3 separate regions of the Homo sapiens genome follow, and regions 1 and 2 are each linked to region 3. The links are contacts of gene promoters, found by promoter capture Hi-C in human tissues and cell types (Jung and others, 2019). All regions are on one chromosome and are shown on one strand. Each heading gives the region's core, a stretch centred on a gene start or on the middle of the fragment in contact. The rest is flanking DNA. Distances are from core to core; before and after follow the strand shown.

Region 1 (2,700 bases), core at 196-2,695, 140 kb before region 3:
CCGGGTGCGGACCGCCAGTGCCTCCGCCCTGCACTCCGCGGGCCCTGCCCAGCTCTTCCCGCCGGAGGGCAGGTGGCCCCCGCCCCGCCCCTGCCAGGCGCGCGATTTTAAATCCCCCCAACCCCCGTCTCTCAGCGTGGCCTGGGAGGGGGAAGCCGCCCGGCTTCAGGGCTTCCTGCGCCTTCGCCGCCGCCCTCCCTGCCCTTCCCCGCCGCCGTCCCCCCTATCCCCCCAGCCCGTCTCTTCCGCCTTCTTATTTTGTGCCTGGGCTCTCTGCTCCGCAAAAATGTTGACTTCCCACGGGCAGAGGTTTCAGAATTTTTTTAAAGCTTTTGTCCACGGCGTTCTCTACATCTTGGTTGAAGGAATGGCAGCCTGCGGGGTGCCGTCTGGGGCCCCCGTCTCCCTGCGCTTCTCGCCTCCTCCATGCGCAGGAGGCGGTGGGGATCCGAGCCTCAGCCCAGAGGCGGGGGCTCCGGGAGGAGGGTGCCCCGCTGCCCTGTCTAGCAGCCTCACCCAGGCCCTTCCGGAGGTGCCTCTGCAGAAAGGGAGTCACGTCCCCCCTGGGCCTCACCTGGCTTGCAGGGATCAGGGAGGGAGGGCGGGGTGGGCTGGGTGCGGTGGGGAAGGAGCAGGGACTCTGGGTCCCACCCTCGGTTGCGTGGTGCAGCCTTTCCCAAACCAGCTGCCCCAGACTCCAGGCCAGACGCCACTGCCAAGGCTGACGAGCCCAGAGCCGCAAGCCTGCCTCGGTTTCTCGGCGGGGGATCCTCAGAGCCAGTGTTAAGCAAAGAGGCTGCGCCAGCGCCCTTCACACCCCTAGAAGGCTAGGGGAGCAAGGCTAGGTGGGGGCGGGCTGGGGCTGGCCCAGAGGGTAGAGCCCGCCCACTTTCCCTCCCTCCTTCCATTCATGCATGCGTTCATTCAGTCATTCATTCCTCAGCAGTCGCTGAGCTCACTCGCCTTAAGTCCTGGAGATCATCGGAGCGCAGCCGGCCAGGGGCCTGGCGCTCTCCCAGCCTTGGGGCCTGGGTCCCCGGACTCCTGCTCGGGGAGGGCCGCAGGACCGGCGCATTGTGCGCGGCGCGGGGAACGGCCCTTGCCTCCCACGGTGCCCTCCCTCGCTGCGCCGGCACCCGCAGCACCCCTGGCCACCTTCCTGCCGGGTACCCCCCACCCCTGCGCTTCCCAGGGCACCTACGGCGCCCAGGTCCGCGTCCAGGCGGACAGGCCGACCTGCCTCTGTCCCGCCTCCGGCCGACGGGCACACGCCTGGGCAGAGCCGAACTTTCCGGAGCCGCCGCGCAGCGCCCCGCCTCCTGTCCCGGGGCGGTCTCGGTCGCCAGAGGAGCCAGGCCGGGGGCGGGGCGGGGACGGGGCGGGGACACGGCTGCCTCCAGCACACCGCGCGCTGGGCGCTCAGAGCCTCGGGCGCGGCGGGAGCGCAGTTAGAGCCGATCTCCCGCGCCCCGAGGTTGCTCCTCTCCGAGGTCTCCCGCGGCCCAAGTTCTCCGCGCCCCGAGGTCTCCGCGCCCCGAGGTCTCCGCGGCCCGAGGTCTCCGCCCGCACCATGCGGCTGGGCAGGTGAGCCGGGGAAGGAGCGGAGGCGCCGCGGTCAGGGGCGGGGTGGCTCGGCCCGCGCGTCCCCAGCTCGGCTCGGACGCGGGGCCTGCGGGGCTCGCCTGGAGGTGCCGGGCTGGCAGTGCGGGTCCGAGGAGCGGGCGGCGGAGGCGCCGGGGCGGCCGGCGGGGCGTGGACGGCAGTGGGCGGCGGGGCCTGGCACCGGGACCCATGGCAGGACGCACAGCCGTGCGGGGGCGGGCTCGGGGGCGGGGTCCCTGCCAGGGAAGGAGGACCGCGAACGCTGGAAGGAGGGAGGGAAGGCGGGCGCACCCTGCACGCCGGGGCACGGGCGCTGCCCCTTCCACTCCCTGGCACTGCTGATTTCCTAGAAGAAGGGAGAAGGAGGGAGGTGACCGGCCGAGCGCTCTCCAAGGCCAGCTGGTGCCCACGGTCTGCGGACACGCCCTCCCCCACACACGTGGGATTCCCCGCAGCCCGGCAGCCGATCCACACTGGGGAAGGCGGGGCTGCCTGAACCAGGAGTGACAGCTTCCTCCTGGATTTTTGCGAAAATATCCAAAATATACTCTTCGCAACCCACGTTGTAGGGTCCGCAGCCTGTGCTCCCCTGGGTGAACCTGTGAGGCCCCTGACCCCAGGGATGCCTCCCGCACAGCTCAGAGCTGGGCCACACCGGAGTCACACTCCCCAGGTCCCCTCCCCATTAGAAGTGTATGCAGTTATGATCCTGCCCTAGAGAGAAAGAATTTAAAGGTCCCGGAATGTCATAGCCCTCCCAAATGTCTTAGCCCTCCGCCACCCACACCTTCAGGTAGGCGGCCCTGTCCATGCTGGGTCTTGAGGCAAGCTCGGGGTGGGGGTAGGTTAGATGCAGGGGTGCTGAGGGTCCAAGGAAAGGACACAGAGGCCGCTGCTTAGGCAGCACCCAGGGAGGGGACAAGCCAGAAACAGCCTGGAGCAGGCACCCCCCACCCTGGCCCAGGAAGCCCCCAGATGTCCTGAGGAGGCCTCCATAGACAGGAGGGGCCTTGTGGGCTGGTGATGAATATGGGCACTGTGGGAGACAAATGGGGGCACAGAGGAGTTCTCACAGCTGTCGTTTAGATGGTGGCTCTG
Region 2 (2,700 bases), core at 200-2,699, 190 kb before region 3:
GCCTTCAGGCAGGAGGGAGCTGAGAGGCTGGTCCAGTGTGTGGGTCTAGTACCCAGAGGAGACCCCCACAGCCCCAGGCAGGCTGGCCCCACACCCAGTGGGTGGGAGCCCGGGTGGGGAGGGGGCGTGGGCTCCCGGGGAAGCCCGGGAAGACTGGAGACCCTGGCTGGCTTCCCCTGCAGGGAGGGTACCTGGGCTGGCGGTGCCCCTTGGAGTCAGGGCTGCTGGCGCGGCAGCTCGAGCCTCTTCTGAGGCCTTCCTCTTGGTGGGGAGTCTGGGTGGCGGTACCAAAGCCTTGGGGACGGCCGGGGGCTTCCTCCCCTTCCGGGGCTGGCTGAGGTCCACATCTGCAGCTCAGGGGCAGGAGCAGGGTCCCAACCTCAGGGTTTTCTCCAGGGGTAGGGTGGGCCCCAGAACTGGACACCTTGGCCAGACAGGTGAGGCCTGGCCCCTTTGCCTCTTAGGATCCAAGACGGTCCTGGAACATCACCCACGGGCTCCTCAAACACCACTCCGGTTCCAGTCCAGCTGGGCTGAGCAGGTGACAGCAGCTGCCCCAGGCCCCCAGCATGGCTGAGTCCACCAGGACCCACCTTTGGGGAAGCTGTCCAGGATGGGCTGCAGCCGGCCATAGCGCTCCAGGTTGTAGTCCTTGAACAGCACCCTCCAGAAGTCCAGGATGGCTGTGGAGTCCTGGGTCAGCAGCCAGGACAGGAGGGCGTGGAAGGCCTGGGGGCAGCCCTCCTTTTCCTTCAGATGAAGCGTCTCCTGCAGTGGGGTGGCATGAGGGTCCCTGCCATGGTCCCCCACACCCTGCGGCCTGCCCATCTCCATCATGACTAGAGGGTGGAGCTCCCAGGCAGAGGCGCTGGCGACCTGGACAGCTCCACGCCCATCTCCTCGGCTTGTGGTGGAGTCAGGTGGTGGTGTAGGGGTGTTGAGGGTGGGGCTGGGGGAACCTGGAGGCCATTCCCTTGGCTTGGGGGTGAGGTGTGGGGACGGCTGGGGGAAGGGGACCAACTTCTAACTTGTCATCAGGGACGCCCCTGGCTCCTTGTGGGGAGGGAGTTGGGGAAGGCTGGAGGGGCTTGGGGATCTGGAGGGGCGGGGTCCTCCTGGAACTTCCCCGGGGACTATCCCTGGCTCACAGGGCCTGGGGGCAGCGGGGGGCGGGCGGGGAGCCCACCTGAAACTTGTCCTCGGGGACCACGTCGTGGTCAGCCAGCGCGTGCAGCAGTGGGAAGGCGCTGTCCACGGCCACCGCGATCTCCGTGCGGTGCAGCCTCAGAAGCCGGCGTAGCGCCGCGTCCGTCGCCATGGGGTGGGCGCGGGGACCCGGGGCTGGGGCGGACGCGGTGGGTCCCGGGACACTGGCAGCCCCTCGCTTGGCCTCGGGTCCCGGCGGGGCTGTGGGGCCTCCGCGCCGGCTGTGCGCCCGCCCGTCTCCCCGGTCTGCGAGCCACGCGCGCCGCTGTTATACCCCCGCGACCACGCAAAGAGCAAAGGCCGCTCCGCCCCGGCGCCCAATCAGGGCCAGGGCCTCCCGCAGGGACACTTCCCTGTGATGGAGGCGCTGCTGTCCCTCCCTCGCTCTCGGGAAGTCTCCGGGCCTGGCCTGACTCACCCACCAGGGCAGCTGCCTTGGGGGCTGGGGACAGAGACTCGCTCTGTGCGGGACTCAGAGAACTCTCACTTCCGAATGTGGCCCTGTCCTGCCTCGGCGAGGGCCCTGCTCGAATGGGGCAAAGCCGAGACAGGTGCCCTCGGCGGGGAGGCTCGGGTCTCAGGGCCCTGGCAGGGGCTGCCCAGGGTGCACCGGCCCCTCCCAGTGGCCGGCAAGAGCCTCCATGGAGGCTGGATCGGGGTGGTGTTCCTGGGGGACCTCCACACAAGCTGAGAGCCCCTACTCAGGGGCCCGCCTGGGGCTGTGGGAGGAGCCCGATGGAGGCTCAGTCTGATGCAGGAGACGGTACGGCAGCCTGGGTGTTGCCAGGGAGCTCCTGACCTCACCATCTTAGGCTAGCTGTGTGACGCCAGGCAAGTCCTTTCCTTCTCTGAGCCTCGGTTCCCTCATCTTTAAAAGGGGCACACTCGCCTGGGGATTGAGGCTCGCATTGACCCCCTCCTTCCTTCCTCCAGGTGCTTTAGAAGGAAGGCGGCCAGCCCCACAACGGGGGTCCTGAGTGTGGCCCTGAGTGAGAGCTCCCAAAGGGTCTTCCTAGGACCAGTGACAGAGGCTGAGGGATGCTGTGGCCTGGACAGGAGCTTCCGGGGGCATCTGGGAAGGTGTCCGGGAGGGGAGCTGCAGTGGACAGGAGCCGAGGGTCCCAGGTGGACGTGAGTGGGGACAGTGCCCCCAGTAAAACAAGACCAGGTGCAGAGGCCTGGGGCCTGCAATGATGCTGAGGCTGTGGTGGCCCCGCAGGCATGGCCTGGAGGGGGGGTGGCCTCAGTGGGAGGCCTTGGTAACAGTCCCCTTGTCTGTGCGGTCAAGCCAGGGAAGCAGGCCCTGTGTGCAGGCTGCAGAGAACCACGAGAGGTCTCTGGGCACGAGTGTTCCCACTGAGCCAGAGAACGAGATGACCTGGCCAGCATGGATTAGGGCTGAAGGGTGGACGAAGGTACCAGGAAGCCTGAATCCAGGCAGCACTGGGCTGGGGGCTAACTGATGCAGTGAGAGACGCCACCAAGATTCCCACG
Region 3 (2,700 bases), core at 109-2,608:
ATAAAGCATCAATGATTTCACCATTCTTCCACCCAAGCTTCACCATAAATTTGATGTTGGTTGTTTTGTTGTTGTTGTTGTTGTTGAGGCGGAGTTTTGCTCGTTGCCCAGGCTGGAGTGCAGTGGCGCAATTTTGGCTCACTGCAACCTCCGCCTCCTGGGTTCAGGCAATTCTCCTGCCTCAGCCTCCCAAGTAGCTGGGCTTATAGGCGCCTGCCACCACGCCCAGCTAATTTTTGTATTCTTAGTAGAGATGGGGTTTCGCCATATTAGCCAGGCTGATCTTGAACTCCTGACCTCAGGTGATCCGCCTGCCTCAGCCCCCCAAAGTGCTGGGATTACAGGCGTGAGCCACTGCACCCGGCCAATGTTGGTTCTTGATTTAATTTTAGCAGAATTCATGTTGCTCTGATAGGGGCTCTTTTAAAACTGATGTCTTATCCTTCTTAGTGCCTCAAACTAGATCCTGCTCAGTGAGTAGGAGCTTATTTTGGTGCAAAAAGTGTTGAAATCCATGCATAGTTTTTTCATAACGTATCTTCCATGATTTTTTTGAAGACCCCTTGTATGTAAAGCACTTAGTACCACTCCTGGGACATGGTAGTGTCTTAATATATGGCAGGTGTTATTATTAACATTAATTATTAAAACACAACCATCATGTAATTCAATGCAATTCAAACACTTAAGTGATCATTCACTGGGACTAGCCCTGGAGATATGAAAGTAAGCAAGACAGGATCCTTGCCATCCAGTAGCAGTAGACCTGGTAAAGAGGTCACAGCTTCCCATCATGAGGATACCGAGCAACCGCCCAGGGGGAGTGAGTGACCAGAAGGCCACGAGCAGCAGAGAAGGGCTCAGGGAGGTGGACATCCTGTAGTTGGGGATGGGGGACCTTTGAGGACAGGAGCTACTACAGGACATGCAGAGGCCCTAGGAGTGTCAGGAGGAAGGCAAAGGAGTGACAGTTCTCAGAGTGTGGCTCTCAGGGCACCCGCAAGCTCATAGCTTTCACACTGCTGCCTTTCTACGCTGCTGACCTCGCGCTGCTGGGGCAACCACAATGGCATGAACTCGGGCCAGACTGCGCAGTCATGTCACTCATGTTCTTTACTACCATGAACTCACAGCAAAAAAACAAAAAAAAAAATGCCACGCTTCACAAAGCAGTCAAAAGTGCTCATTTTATTAAATTCAGCTCCTGAGTAGACTTTTTTTTAATTGTGAAATGTTTATAGACTCACAAGAAGTTGTAAAAGTAGTAGAGGGGTCACATACCTTCATCACCAGCTTCACCCAACTGTGCCATCTCGTGTAACACAGGAAGCTGACACTGGTACCATACAGTGACCCAGGCTGCAGACCCCACTGGATTTCACTACAGAGTGAACCAGGCTGCAGACCCCACTGGATTTCAATACAGATAGAACCAGGCTGCAGACCCCACTGGATTTCACTACAGAGTGGACCAGGCTGCAGACCCCACTGGATTTCAATACAGCTAGAACCAGGCTGCAGACCCCACTGGATTTCACTACAGAGTGGACCAGGCTGCAGACCCCACTGGATTTCAATACAGATAGAACCAGGCTGCAGACCACACTGGATTTCACTACAGAGTGGACCAGGCTGCAGACCCCACTGGATTTCAATACAGATAGAACCAGGCTGCAGACCCCACTGGATTTCACTACAGAGTGAACCAGGCTGCAGACCCCACTGGATTTCAGCAGCTTTCGCAGGCATTCTTTGGGTCTAATTCTATGGCATTTGTCACATGTGTAGATTCGTGTAACAACCACAGCGGCCCTGGCCCAGAACTCTCCATTACCACAGAGGACGGCCTCCTGCTGCCTCCCACTGCTCCGTGGAACACTGACCCGCTCTCCTTCTGAGGCTGGCATTTTGAGGATGTCATTTAGAAATGGAATCACACAGTACACCTCCTTATAGGACTGGCGTTTTTCTCTTAGTATAATGCCCTTGAGATCCAACCACAGCACTGCGTGTGTCAACAGTCCCTTCTGTTTCACTGCTGAGGAGGAATCAGATGTGCCAGTTTAACCGCTCTCGAGCTGAAGGACGTTTGAGTTATTTCCATTCTTGAGTGCTTGTGTTCTTGACATTCTCTGGGTCTCTGCTGCAGAATGACAGCTGGCTCAGGGAAAGCACACGGGGAGCGCTCGGTGCTGCGAGCTGAAATAGCCGCTGTTTTCACAGAACGCCCTTTTCACTTGCAAGAGCGCTGGGGAAGCTAGTTATTCAGTGTTGGGTATTTGGTAGACGTCTGATTAAAAATGAATGATGTAAGCCTGTCACTTCAAAGAAAACAACACGACTATTTGCTGCCAATGATGCCATCTGAGACTTTAAGCAAAAATCAGAATTTTGGAAAACTTACACTTGCCACTGTGAGCTTGAAAGAGTTCTGATGCTCCAAGCCCTCCCTGAGAGATCACAAATGCAGATTTTAAAAAAATATTGTCAAACGAAAGGTGCCCACATTTGGAAGATCTGCACAACTCAGGAAACCATGTTTCCCACATGACTAATGGCACAGGGTGTAACGCTATGATGCCTGGGTAAAAGAGCCATTCAAAATGCAAGATAGGCTGAGTGCAGTGCCTCACACCTGTAATCCCAACACTCTGGGAGGCCAAGGCGGGAGGACTGCTTGAGCCCATGGGTTCGAGACCA

What was found. Contacts are between HindIII fragments. The study calls those that stand out against the background at their distance.
Region 1: a contact is called between the fragment with the promoter of ICOSLG here and a fragment that was not itself captured in region 3, in 2 of the 25 tissues and cell types used here (dorsolateral prefrontal cortex and spleen).
Region 2: the fragment with the promoter of AIRE here is called in contact with a fragment that was not itself captured in region 3 in 2 of the 25 tissues and cell types used here (spleen and stomach).

What each region holds. Positions count from the first base shown.
Region 1 is chr21:44,239,688-44,242,387 of GRCh38, reverse strand. ICOSLG (inducible T cell costimulator ligand) reads left to right here and starts at 1,445. Exons shown (of 7, transcript NM_015259.6): 1 at 1,445-1,584. The coding sequence starts at 1,571. RefSeq lists cis regulatory regions at 719-1,634, 710-1,634, 635-1,634 and an enhancer at 2,190-2,700. The HindIII fragment of the contact is 7,916 bases long and covers 1-2,700 here.
Region 2 is chr21:44,284,625-44,287,324 of GRCh38, reverse strand. AIRE (autoimmune regulator) reads right to left here and starts at 1,449. Exons shown (of 14, transcript NM_000383.4): 1 at 1,187-1,449; 2 at 594-768; 3 at 192-347. The coding sequence starts at 1,318. RefSeq lists enhancers at 1,970-2,571, 2,572-2,700. The HindIII fragment of the contact is 44,459 bases long and covers 1-2,700 here.
Region 3 is chr21:44,098,540-44,101,239 of GRCh38, reverse strand. The region is part of intron 21 of TRAPPC10 (trafficking protein particle complex subunit 10); the gene reads right to left. Among named protein-coding and RNA genes, the nearest start is that of PWP2, 7.5 kb to the left of the region's middle. The HindIII fragment of the contact is 4,324 bases long and covers 1-2,700 here.